Regions from separate parts of the Homo sapiens genome. Here region 1 is linked to region 2. The links are contacts of gene promoters, found by promoter capture Hi-C in human tissues and cell types (Jung and others, 2019). All regions are on one chromosome and are shown on one strand. Each heading gives the region's core, a stretch centred on a gene start or on the middle of the fragment in contact. The rest is flanking DNA. Distances are from core to core; before and after follow the strand shown.

What was found. The method cuts DNA at HindIII sites, captures the fragments that hold promoters and counts their contacts. A contact is called where the count stands out against the background at its distance.
Region 1: a fragment that was not itself captured here is called in contact with the fragment with the promoter of RNF141 in region 2 in 1 of the 25 tissues and cell types used here (hippocampus).

Annotation. Positions count from the first base shown.
Region 1 is chr11:10,850,308-10,856,990 of GRCh38, reverse strand. ZBED5 (zinc finger BED-type containing 5) reads left to right here. Exons shown (of 3, transcript NM_001143667.2): 2 at 734-847; 3 at 1,905-4,285. The coding sequence starts at 2,046. The coding sequence ends at 4,127. Among named protein-coding and RNA genes, the nearest start is that of ZBED5, 4.4 kb to the left of the region's middle. The HindIII fragment of the contact is 3,978 bases long and covers 1,147-5,124 here.
Region 2 is chr11:10,538,320-10,545,033 of GRCh38, reverse strand. RNF141 (ring finger protein 141) reads left to right here and starts at 3,847. Exons shown (of 6, transcript NM_016422.4): 1 at 3,847-3,912. It overlaps IRAG1-AS1 (IRAG1 antisense RNA 1), which reads right to left and starts at 3,798. Exons shown (of 4, transcript NR_046375.1): 1 at 3,492-3,798. RefSeq lists an enhancer at 3,662-3,771. The HindIII fragment of the contact is 8,088 bases long and covers 1,753-6,714 here.

The DNA.
Region 1 (6,683 bases), core at 1,886-4,385, 310 kb before region 2:
TGTTCATCCGTTTCGCTGCATAACCCAACTCCTAGTAACGAGATTTTTTAGTAGTTGGGGAATTAAAAGTATTCAGGAACACCCAAGTAATGGCTAGACACATGGGCTATGCAGTCAAACTTTTTGGGCTCTGAACTTGGTTTTTCACTTACAAGAGGTGTTAGCGAGATGTGTTAACCTGTGTCTGTTTATCTCTAAAGTGGGGTTATTAATAATCCTTGTGTCTTCATAGATGAGATAATCTATATGAGGGATTTAGCAGTAATTGGCATACAGTAAACAATCATCAGTCATTAGACATTGTTTACCTGAGGAGATTGGTCACTGGGGGGCTAAAAATGATTGTAGTGAAAGAACTGCTTCATGTAATAGTTCTATGTATAATTCCATTTTAGATTCAAGACCTAGTTTTAGAGACATTGATGAGGTTGTACTTTTAAAAATTAGGCTTAGTTTCAAGTTCTAGAAAGTGTGGTGGTGGTGTTGTTTTAACATGTTTCTATGAAGTCAGTAGGTGGGGGAACATCTCAAAGCATCTAAATTGCCAAGATATTGAACAGGATGAAAATGTTAGAATTTTTACTATGCTAGGCGTCTTCTCTTTCAGTCCAAGATCTGCATTGCAGTAAAGAATCATTTTCACTGCTTAGATCCAGAAAGAATAAACCCATCTTACGGGTTTATAGTTAGTTCTGCTTGTTACTGTATCTAATTTTAATTTTTCTCATTCTAGGCTTTTGGTTACTCCCCTTCCCACCCCATCCCTTAATTTTATTCTTTTGAAGAGTGCATTTCAAGCTGCCAAGGTGGAGAGAGGGATTACAGAAAGGAGAACACCTTATTTCAGGTATCTTATCCTCTACCCCTTAATAGGAGAACCATTTTGACTCAAGATCTAACATGAGAATACAAAACTTACTCTATAGCCAGGTTATAAAGTTTAAATCAAAAGTAGCTATATTTGGACAGACATAATTTGTATGCCTTGATTTATAGAGTTAATAGTATTCTTTAGCAATCCTTAGATTGCATTATCCTTTTAATTTTGATTTGTTTTATTATATGAGAAATAAACCTCTTAAATGAGAGTTTATTTTTTTTTTTTAGGTCCTGGTTAAGTCGTCACCTGTTGTATAAATAGAATGCAGAGTTATCTGTAAAAATATACATTACTTTCATTGAGTCTTAATTTGGATAATATAAACGTTTATATAATTTAAGTCCAGAGAAACAGTACCTAACTTTTGATATACAATTTATTCTTCATTGTTAACGCATAACATTTAGGATACAGTAGAATTATGTATCTCGCAAAACTTGGAACTGTGTGTGTGTTTAATTCACTTCTTCAGAATTGTTGCTAGCCCTGAAGGGACTTCAGATATATAATAGTATCAACAACTAATACATCTAATGACAGTAGGCATCAAAAGCTAAAAGAGATTTCACAATACTACATACCATGAGACAGGGCTGATAAATTATGGCCCATGCTGTCTGGTTTTGTACGTAAAGTTTTATTGGAACACACCTGTGTCCATTCTTTCATGTATTGTCTATGGCTGCTGTCATGTTACAACTACAGAGTTGAGTAGTTGCAACAGAGACTATATGGCCCTTGACCAAAAAAAGCCTGCCAACCCCTGCCATGGGACATATTCTTCAGGGTCCCTTTCTTAAAAATATGTATAACAACTCTTAATAATTTATTGGCTCAGTGATTCCCAAATTATGTTTTATAGAATATTAATATTCTCTAAGTTAATAAATGTTTTGAGAAAATGATTGATGCTAATATTGGTTTTTCTTTATGGTTGATTTTAATATGTTTATTTAAATATGAGATTAAGACTGCTAAACTCATTTCTATAGCTTTTATTTTTATGTGATAATCTACCTTTAAGAAAAGGTGTACCATACCTGAGAGCACCAGGAAGTCGCATGAGAGATCACCTGATACATGAACGTATGATGTTCCATCTGCGCATTGATGAATAGGCAGCATTTACAAATTAACTGATGTGTTGCTGTATATCATCTCTTTGATGATTGCTCCTCTTCTTTGTATCCTGTCTTATAATTTCAACACATTTGCGATACTCAATGTCTATTCTAAATTAACCATGTTTTGTACCACAAACTCATTGCCCATGGATCTGTTGCTGAAACAAGGAAGTCTTAAACAAGAAGTGGAATCTTTCTGTTATCAGATTGTGTCTGAATCAAATGATCAGAAGGTTGGAATATTACAAAGTGAAGATAAGCAGTTGCAACCTTCAGTTTCTAAAAAATCAGAAGGTGAGCTTTCCAGGGTCAAATTTATATCCAATTCCAACAAAATAACATTTAGTAAAAAACCAAAAAGAAGAAAATATGATGAAAGTTATTTGTCTTTTGGATTTACTTACTTCGGAAATAGAGATGCACCTCATGCTCAGTGTGTATTATGTAAGAAAATTTTATCAAATAGCTCTTTAGCCCCTAGTAAGCTTCGAAGACATTTGGAAACTAAACATGCTGCATATAAAGACAAAGACATAAGCTTTTTCAAGCAACATCTCGATTCACCTGAAAATAATAAACCCCCAACACCTAAAATTGTGAATACAGATAATGAAAGTGCTACAGAAGCATCATACAATGTAAGTTACCATATAGCGCTGAGTGGAGAGGCTCATACTATTGGAGAATTGCTTATCAAACCTTGTGCAAAAGATGTAGTGATGCGGATGTTTGATGAACAATATAGTAAAAAAATAGATGCAGTACAGCTATCAAACAGTACTGTTGCACGTCGAATTAAGGATCTAGCTGCTGACATTGAAGAAGAGCTTGTTTGTAGACTGAAAATTTGCGATGGGTTTTCACTGCAACTAGATGAATCAGCTGATGTTTCAGGACTTGCTGTGCTGCTTGTGTTTGTTCGTTATAGGTTTAATAAGTCTATTGAGGAAGACCTACTCCTGTGTGAATCTTTGCAAAGTAATGCTACCGGTGAAGAAATATTCAACTGTATCAACAGTTTTATGCAGAAACATGAAATTGAATGGGAAAAATGTGTTGATGTTTGTAGTGATGCTTCTAGGGCAGTGGATGGGAAAATTGCCGAAGCTGTCACCTTAATAAAATATGTGGCTCCCGAAAGCACCAGTAGTCACTGCCTATTATACAGACATGCACTGGCAGTTAAAATAATGCCTACATCTCTAAAAAATGTGCTAGACCAGGCAGTACAAATCATCAATTATATTAAAGCTCGACCACATCAATCCAGACTATTAAAAATTTTATGTGAGGAAATGGGTGCTCAGCACACAGCACTTCTTCTAAATACAGAGGTGAGGTGGCTTTCTCGAGGTAAAGTTCTTGTAAGACTTTTTGAACTTCGTCGTGAACTTTTGGTTTTCATGGATTCTGCTTTTCGACTATCTGATTGTTTAACAAATTCATCTTGGCTGCTAAGACTTGCATATCTTGCAGATATTTTTACTAAATTAAATGAAGTTAATTTGTCAATGCAAGGAAAAAATGTGACCGTTTTTACAGTATTTGATAAAATGTCGTCATTGTTAAGAAAATTGGAATTTTGGGCCTCATCTGTAGAAGAAGAAAACTTTGATTGTTTTCCTACACTCAGTGATTTTTTGACTGAAATTAATTCTACAGTTGATAAAGATATTTGCAGTGCCATTGTGCAGCACCTAAGGGGTTTGCGCGCTACTCTGTTAAAATACTTTCCTGTAACAAATGACAATAATGCTTGGGTTAGAAATCCATTTACAGTTACTGTTAAACCAGCTTCATTAGTAGCACGGGACTATGAGAGCCTGATTGATTTAACATCTGATTCTCAAGTGAAGCAAAATTTTAGTGAACTTTCACTAAATGATTTTTGGAGTAGCCTAATTCAGGAATACCCAAGCATTGCAAGGCGTGCAGTGCGTGTACTTCTTCCTTTTGCTACAATGCACCTGTGTGAAACGGGGTTTTCATATTACGCTGCAACAAAAACAAAATATAGGAAAAGACTTGATGCTGCACCTCATATGCGAATCCGACTTAGCAATATTACACCTAATATTAAGCGGATATGTGATAAAAAGACACAAAAACACTGTTCTCATTAAAATTGGAGGAGTTTGCATGTCTCATGATAACCAAATGTAAGATGAAAATAAAAGATGATTTACTTCATCTCTGGTATTTGGGGGATTTAAATAAAATGATTCCATTTTTTTATACTATTTAGATTTTAAGAAGGCTAAAGAATCAAACGTTTTAAACATATTGTGTTATTATTGGTATTTCTTTACATTGTAATTTTAAAGAGTTCCATGATCATAACTGGGAAATAATGATCCCCAAGATAAAGTCCCAGTCCCTTAACATATCTCTTCAGGATCTAATCCCTACCAATCTTTCCGTGTCTACTCTGCAGCTCTCCAATCCCATGGAACTTCTTGCCATTCCCTAAACATATCACACTGTTTTATCGTTTCAGGTCTCAAAAAGCGATTCTGTCCCCATCTTACTTTCTGGTAGGCTCCTATTTGCTTCAACACTTTGACTTGTAGGTACTTTCATTCTCTGTATCTTCCTATTTTGATGCTGTTTCACACTTGTATTTAATGTTTGTGTCTGTCTCAACTGTGAACTCCTTGATGGTCTCACGGTTCCCAATGTTTTCAGACTAAGCTCTTAGAGAGTCTTATTGAGTCTTATCCAAATCTGTGTCTCCATAATCTGGAAAAAGGCTTTACTAAATTAGATGCTCAGTAAAGGAAAAACATGTTGGTGAAAGTGAACCAACAAAAAATGGAATGGGGGATTTCCTACATTCATTGATTGGTATGGTAGCAGGTGTACACACTGCTACCCTTTGGGTTTTTTGGCTCACTTACTCTATTAACTAGAGTTCAGTGTGGCCATTATGCAGAGGTCATCGAGGAATGTCATAGTTTTATGATTCAGGCTGAACTATTGAGGGAGAGGGGATGAAGTGTGAAGAGTATTTTCAGATACTTTGTTTTTTTCTCAGTTCCTATATAGATTATTGTAAATTCCACATGCAGTATAAATTAATGAGACTTTACTGTAGTCAGAGATGCTTAGACCAGAAATCAGTTTGTTCTTATAATACTGTAAAAATTTCCTGACTGAATTTCCTGTCTCTGGGCTACTTTTCCTACATCACGTCATGCAACACAGTTCACCAACTCAGTGTTAAATATTTGTTACTCCTGTAGTCAAGAACTACTGTAGATAACCATTATTTAATCTCATTTATTGAAACTTCCATTTTAGGGAGTAAAGGTACCACCCCCCACCATTAAGGCAGAATGTGGTAAAATGACTAGGTTCAAGTACCTACTTTACTTTGTAATGTACGGTAATCTGAACTTGAACCTCAGTTGTTTCATCTATAAAATTACAATTACGCCTCCTTTGAAGGGTTGTTATCAAGATTAAATGTGAATGTATAAATATAAAGCTCCTAACAGTTGATGATCAGGAGTAGGTGTACAGCATATATTAGTTCTCTGCCATATCCAACTATGTTCCAGTTAAAGTTGAGTCTACACTTCACACTTCTAATCTGGATTTTTATTCTCTGGAGACTCAACAGTTTACTAGACCATGGGACATTTCCTGATCCAAGGCAACAAGATTACATACTTCTAGCCCAGGTTTTTCCTCCTTGTTGCCTTATTAAGCACTTATTTGTCTGTGAGGAACTTTATTTTATTTATTTATTTTTTGAGACAGAGTCTTGCTCTGTCACCCAGGCTGGATTACAGTGGCGCGATCTTGGCTCACTGCAACCTCTGCCTCCCAAGTTCAACCAATTCTCATGCCTCAGCCTCCGAAGTAGCTGGGATTACAAGTGTGCACCACCACCCCCAGCTAATTTTGTTTGTGCTGGAGTAAAGTGGCGTGATCTCACCTCACTGCAACTTCAGTCCCCACCCCCCGCCCGCCCCCCATCCCCCAGCGATTCTCCTGCCTCATCCTCCCGAGTAGCTGGAATTACAGGCACGTGCCACCACACCCAGCTAATTTTTGTATTTTTAGTAGAGACGGGGTTTCTGCATGTTGGCCAGGCTGGTCCCGAACTCTTGATCTCAGGTGATCCACCCGCCTCGGCCTCTCAAAGTGCTAAGATTGCAGGCATGAGCCACCACAGCTGGCCTAATTTTTGTATTTTTAGTAGAGACGGGGTTTCACCATGTTGGCCAGGCTGACCTTGAACTCCTGACCTCAGGTGATCCGCCCACCTAGGCCTCCCAAAGCACTGGGATTACCGATGTGAGCCACTGCGCCCAGCCTGTCAGGCACTTTAATAGTTGCTTTGTATTTATCTATAATCTTTACAACAATCTTATGGGATTCAGTCATTTTTGGACTTGACCTAGGTCATAGGTAATTAGCAGGATTTAGTTTAAAGTAAGTCTTTCCCAAATACAGAGCTTTTTCCCATCATTGCCTTCTGAACTTTTCTAAGACAAACAGTGACTTGGAAGTACAGCCTGAAACTGCCTACTAGAATCTGGACATTTCTTTGAAGTCTTGTGTTTACTTCTAAATTCACCGAAATTGGCTAATTTAAAATATGACTAATTTTCATGTAAAATATAGAGTAAATTGCTGTCAACTACTAATTCCTTAGAAGATGTATCATAATT
Region 2 (6,714 bases), core at 2,598-5,097:
TGCTTGGGGCAACACTGACATGCCAGCCCCCTGCCACCTCAGCCCCCTCTGGACTTTGGACACTGATGAGCATGGGAGGGGAAGCTGAGGGGGCGCTGAGGGCAGCTCAGTGTGGGCCTGCAGGCTCCCGCTGGCACAAACAGCCTTGGTGCCATGGACAGTGGCATGAGGCAGACTGGCTCCTGGGCAAAAAGGGGTGGGTCCTCAGTGAAACCCTACCTTTAGGCAACTGAGAGTCTGAAGCCTGGGGGCTGGGCTGCCAGGTCCTCAGACTGGAGTGAGAACTTATGGCACTTTTTCTACTGCCCATGGACCAATCAGCATGCACTTCCTCCCTCTTGAGCCCATAAATATCCTAGGCTCAGCCAGACTCAAGAAACATGGGGACAACCTGCCTGCGTGTAGGAGCTACCCACTCCAGATCTCCTCTCTGCTGAGGGCTCAGCAGACATCCTGACGACCTGCCTGCAGAAAGGAGCCACCCACTGTGGGTCTCCTCTCAGCTGAGAGCTGGGCAGACAACCGGACAACCTGCCTGCAGAAAGGAGCTACCCACTTAGAGTCTCCTGAGAGCTATACTGTCACTCAATAAAGCACCTCTTCACCCTACTCACCCTCCAATTGTCTGCATACCTCATTATTCCTGGATGTGGGACAACAACTTGGGACCTGCCAAATGGCAGGACTGAAAGAACTGTAACACAAACAGGGCTGAAACACCCCCTCACTCCCCATGTTGCAAGCGATGAGAAGGACAGAAGAGAGAAGGAGAGAAGAGCTTTGACACTTCGAGAAGCCCAGACCTAAGAGCTCCCTGAGCCAGGACTGTAACACCCTCTTGGGGGCTCTGCATTTCCTGGCATCTCAAAGCTTCCAGGTGCCACCACATTCCCTAGTGCCAGCAGTGGAAGCCGCTTGTGGTACTCCTGGTCCAGCCACAGCTTTGCAGGAGCCAGCGCCCATGCCAGCACCTGGAGCCACCCGCCCCGCCACAGCTGGCGTGCCTAGCTGTGCACAGCGGCCAGACCTCGCGCTCACTTGCTCACGCACCCCTCACCACTTTGCGCCTGGCTCGTCCTTGGCAGGCATGGGATCTGGGCCAGTGGCATGAGCCGAGTGCAGCCTGCAAGGCCAAATGGGCAGAATGAGCCCAGTGGGCCTGAGCAAAACTCGGGCAAAGGAGCCACCGGCCACAGAGGTTTCTGGCTGGCAGAGCAACACTCCAAGGATCCTGTGACAGTATGAGGAAAGGAGCAAGATATTAAGAGTTTTTTGGCATATGCTATTCAATTTTTTCAGGTTTATTTGTTGAAAAGATTATCTTTTCCCCCACTGAATTGCCTTGGCATATTTGTCGAAAATCAATTGATGACATATGTATAGATACATCTCTGGGTTCTATATACTGTTCCATTACTCTATCTATTTTCATACCTATACTATACTGTGTTGAGTAGCTCTTATTATAATGTCTTGAGATCAGGTAGTGTAAGTCCCAAAACTTTGTTTTTTTTGATGAAAGTCTTGACTATCCTAGGTCCTTTGCATCTCCATATAAATTTTAGAATTAGTTTGGTCATTTCCATCAAAAAGAAATCTGCTAGAATTTTTATTGGAATTTCCTTAAATCTGTAGGTCAATTTAGGCAGAAGTGATATCTTAAAAATGCTCAGTCTTCTGATTCATGAACATAATGTATCTCTATTTATTTAGGTCTTCTTTAATTTCTCTTAACAATGTTTTTTATTTTATTTTAGATTCAGGGGGTACACGTGTAGTTTTGTTACATGGGTATATCGAACAATGCTGAGGTTTAGGCTTCTAATGATCCAGGTCACCCAAGTGGTGAACATAGTACCCAATAGTAGTTTTTTCTACCCTTTTGGAATCCCCAGTGTTTATTGTTCCCAACTTTGTGTCTGTGTACTCAACGTTTAGCTCCTACTTATAAGTGAGAACATGCGGTATTTGGTTTCCTGTTTCTGCATTATTTTGCTTAGGACAATGGCCTCCAGCTGTATTCATGTTGCTGCAAAAGATATGATCTAGTCCTTTTTGTGGTTGTATAGTATTCCATGGCGTATATGTACCACACTTTCTTTATCCAATCCACTATTGATAAGCACCTGGGTTGATTCCATGTCTTTGCTATTCCATAATATTTTATAGTTTTCAGTATACATGTCTTTCTCATCTTTGGTCAAATTTGTCCCAAATTTGCTGCTTTTTTTTTTTTTTTTTTTTTTGCTGATAAGAGATATTTAAAAATTTTCCATTTCTAATTGTTCATTGCTAGTATATAGAAATACAACTGATTTTTGTATATTTGATTTTGTATCTTGCAACTTTTGTAAACTCACTTATGAGTTCTAGCAGCTTTTTTGTAGTATTCCACAATTTTCTTATGCAAATAAATGCAGTGCTACAACTTCCTTTCCAACTTGGATGCCTTTTATATATTTGTCTTTTTTTATTTCATTGACCAGAACTTCCAATACAATGTTTAATTGAAGGCAATTTTTACAGAGTAATATTTCTAACTCCCAGGCCCGGATTAGGCTGAACTATGGAATCTTGTTGAATTTGATATCTTTTGGAATTTATTAAATCATTATTTATACTTCATTTTTAAGCTTTTTCCTTTTCCAGTGTTCAAATATTCATCAAATGTTCAAATATTGAACAAGTACCATGCTGGCTGTCAGGGAAATAATGGTGCACAAACAGGCATGGACCTAGCGCTAATGAAGTCTTACCGTACTACCGAGGCAGTTTAAAACAGGAATTAAAAACACAGGTTCAGGGTTCTGTCTGCTTGGGTTTGAATCTGGCTCTGCTCCTTAATGGTTGTTTGACCTTGGAAAAGTTAATCGACTTTTCTAAGCCTGTGTCTTAGTGAAGGTATTAATAATACCTACTCACAGGATTGCTGTGAAGATTAAACGAATTAATACCTTTAAAGTCCTTAAAATACGGTTTGACATATAGTAAATGGTCAAAGAGTATTATTATTAGAGGGAAGAATTAGCTCTTCACAAGGTGAATCTACAAGTGACTGGTGAAGGAGGGGTGTACAAACAAGAAACATAAAAACCAGTTTAACTGCTAAGCATAGAGGCAGCAGTGTCAGCTGTACCTGGGTTAAAATCCTTGCTCTGCTGTTTATTGTCTAGGCAACTTTGACCAGACGACTTAAACAAGAGCAATGCCCGTAAAGTGCCTAGTGCAGTATTTGGCACACAACAGATGCTTAAAAGACAGCAATTACTGATTCAGACGTCCCGCAGAGCAGTAATATCACTAACATGTGCTCATCATCATATCTATCATTTATCAAAGCTCAGGATTTTGAACCTTGTAATTACTTTTCATACATTCTCTTATGCTTAACAACTCGGCTAGGTGAACACAATCCATTGCCTCATAAAGAAACAAGATGACCTTTGTGTATCTATCATCAGTGGGGAGGCTGGAGGTCTGGGAAGTGGTACCTTGGAGCCCAACTGTTGACCAAACCAGGGCTCTCAGTGCGGCCTTGGTCGCCAGCGGGGCGCTCCACTTTCCGCTCCGGAGATGGCACCAGGAGAGATGGGAGTCTGCCAGGCTGTTTCCATGGCCACCTCATGAAGCCCCTGCTCCGGGAGCGTGACAGGCGAGACTCTCCTTCGCCGCCACCTCTCGTCTCAGATGACCATCTGGGCTCGAAAGCCCTCAGGAGCTGCGGAGCGCGGGTCGGTAGGGGCGCTGCAGAGGAAGGTTGGGCGCCGTCTCCCGGCAACGCGCGGGGGGCGGGGCTTTGCGTCACAGAGGTGCGACCGGGTCCCGGCCTGAGTCGCGGCCACCCGCAGGTCTGAGCTGTGGGCTGAGGCAGCGCAGCCGCTGCCGCAGGGTGCGCGATGCCTTGAACCTGGGGTGAGCTCCGCGGCGCTGTCCTTTCGTGTTTCCCTTGCTAGCTGCTCCAGGACTCTGGGTCTGGGAAGAGAAACCCCAGAGGGCCCTCCGCTGCCGAGCCAGGCTTCCGCGGGGAGACAGGCCTAGCCCCGCCGCCCTCCCCGGGCCTCGGATTGGGGCGTGGGGACGGCTGGGGAGGCCATTCTATTGACGCCCGTCTTCTGCCCGGCGGGTTCCAGTTGCCCGGGGTGGCGGTGGCTTGTCCCGCCTCGGGGTGGTTCTGAGGGACCCGGAGAGAGTTTTTCCTTCTCTATCCCAAAACGGTTGTTTGAATATTGCCGCCGGCTCAGTCATTCGGCCGCCGGACTTAGCTGTTGGTTAAATGTCCAGGTGCGCTTGAGGAGGGGCTGAGGCGGCGTAGCCAGAGCGAGCGCTAGGGTGGCCCGCGGGCTCGGTCTCCGCCGGGCTGGACACCCAAATAAGAAACCTTTTGCCTGGGACGATAGCTCAGAAATAGCCACGTCGATCTACTTAGCCAGCCCCACACTTATGAATTGGCTTAGGCTGCTACCCTTCCCAAAGGTCTTTCCTTGTCAAACTAGCTGCTACCTTGAGACCCGGCTAAGAAAAGAACGTTTTCTTGCTAATAATAAGAAGGTAGTGATTACACAGCAGGAGCAGAAGGCTTCTGTGTTAGCTTTTGAAATTATTCCTTCAGTTATTTGTCTCGGCGTTACAAAATGTGGATTTACGATTGTTATTGAAATCGATCCCTATGCCCCTTATTAAAGGTAGTGTACCTTTTATATTCTGACACTGTCCTATTTAGCGGTGCCAGCTAATTCAGTTCTTGCCTCTGGCATATATATAAAGCTGCTGGAACACTTTCAATTGTTTATAATTCTTACATCTTCAGCACGAATTTATTCGTTTTCACTCCCTTCTGCCCATTCTTCTTGCTATAAAATGACCTCTACCCATTCAGAATTTTGTCTGGGGGCATGAGCTGCCACCGGCCGACGATCCTAAATTAGTCACCTCCATGTCGAAGTCACCCGTCTGAGAAGTGATGCTTTCTGAATTCAGAGCTCAAAAATAGTATGGATTTTTATCCTTTTCTTTCACATTGCCTGACTTCAGTTTCTAGAACTTTTTCTCAAGAATATGACTATATGTTTCAAAAATTAATATTTGTCATTTGGTGTAAATGAACTTTATATTCGATGTGTGTAGCCTGATCCTTCTTGGTTCCCATCTAAATACAAACACGCTTTCCTTCCCAAAAAGGCAAGGGAGGTCCAGAGAGAATTCTTACAAGTCTAATATGCTTTTTCCAATATGAAATGCATTTAGTAAACACACTGTTACTGTGAGAAATCCATATTCTTAATCTCCTAGTACGGCACTCTATCCTTTTGTAGTTTCTCTCTCCTTCTCTCTCTAATATATATGTATGTATCTTTTTCTGATCAAGATCTTTGATTCTGGAACAGGCATTCTGGACTCTATAGTGACTCTGGCCTAATTATTTCACTATGTATCTATATTAACTTGTCTTGAAAAAAAAAAGTTGATATCTGTTTACAGATCTACAGTTTGAGTAAACAATGAGTAATAAAGTAAATAATATCCTTAGGGACCCAGTCAGTAGTACTTGGTATTTATTACTGATGTTAAAGTTGACTTGACAGTGAAAATCATTGATGTTTATTTCAATTAAATCCTTTTAGGTGAGGTTGATACAAAATTTGATGGAGAACTGGTTTCAGAGAGGTTTTTAAAATACTACAGTGCAGTACTTGTCATTTAGTCATTTTGGTGCATTTTCAGCCTTTTCCATTTTGCTTTAGTTATTTTATGAATGAATTATGGTTTAAATTTTTAGGAGTTTTTGAGCAGTTTTTTCGTTTTTGCTTTGCCAGTTACCCATGATGTAATTTTAATATTTTTATAAGGAATATTTGAACTTCCACAATTCATTTGTTAGAAAAATAAGTGATTCACTATGTACCACCCACTAGAGAATGTGGCATTTTTGGAATCCTTGATCTTGTGCATTTCAAAATAACAGTTCTTTATTTAGAAAATCCTTCAAATGCTTTTTGAAAGCATATTTTTATCTTGCAAAAAATGACTGTGTTATAGGTGGCACAATAATATGAGAGCTGCTAGTTCTTTGAGAAATCTTGACCAGAAATTCATCTTTTGTTGAATTCTGTGCCAGTGGTTTGCAAATTATGTTTCTATGCAATACCACTGTTGCATGGCCTAGGGGGGAGTATCTTGTTAAAATCAAATAGTAAATGTTTCCCAGTTTACATAAGCATTAATTTAATGACAGATTTTCACAGTTTTACATTTTCTTTCATACATATTTTTAACTTCTGCTTCTCTCCAACCTAGTACTAATAGATGACTGACCAAATTAACAAAAGTCAAAAGAATACTAAGTGAATAATAATAAAACAAAAACTGCCAATGGTATTTACTGCATTTATTCAGTAAACATCTATTGAGTGCTTGTGTATCTGCCAGAAGACAGACCATAGCTGCTGTCCTCAAGAAGCTCACTAGAGGGAAATGGCCAAGTGACTTAACGAATGTCATAGTATGATAGAAATATGTGCAGTCACCAAAGAGGGACACTGAAAAGCTGTGGTGGTTGACTAGAGGATGGCCTCAACAGATTGTTTTCGTGAACATGCACTCTGTGTTGTGGTTTTATATTGTATGCAGATCACAGAGTCATATCTTATTTTCACACCCATATAGTGATAGATGTTAATATTTATCAATATTTTATGGTTTTCAAAATAAACTAAA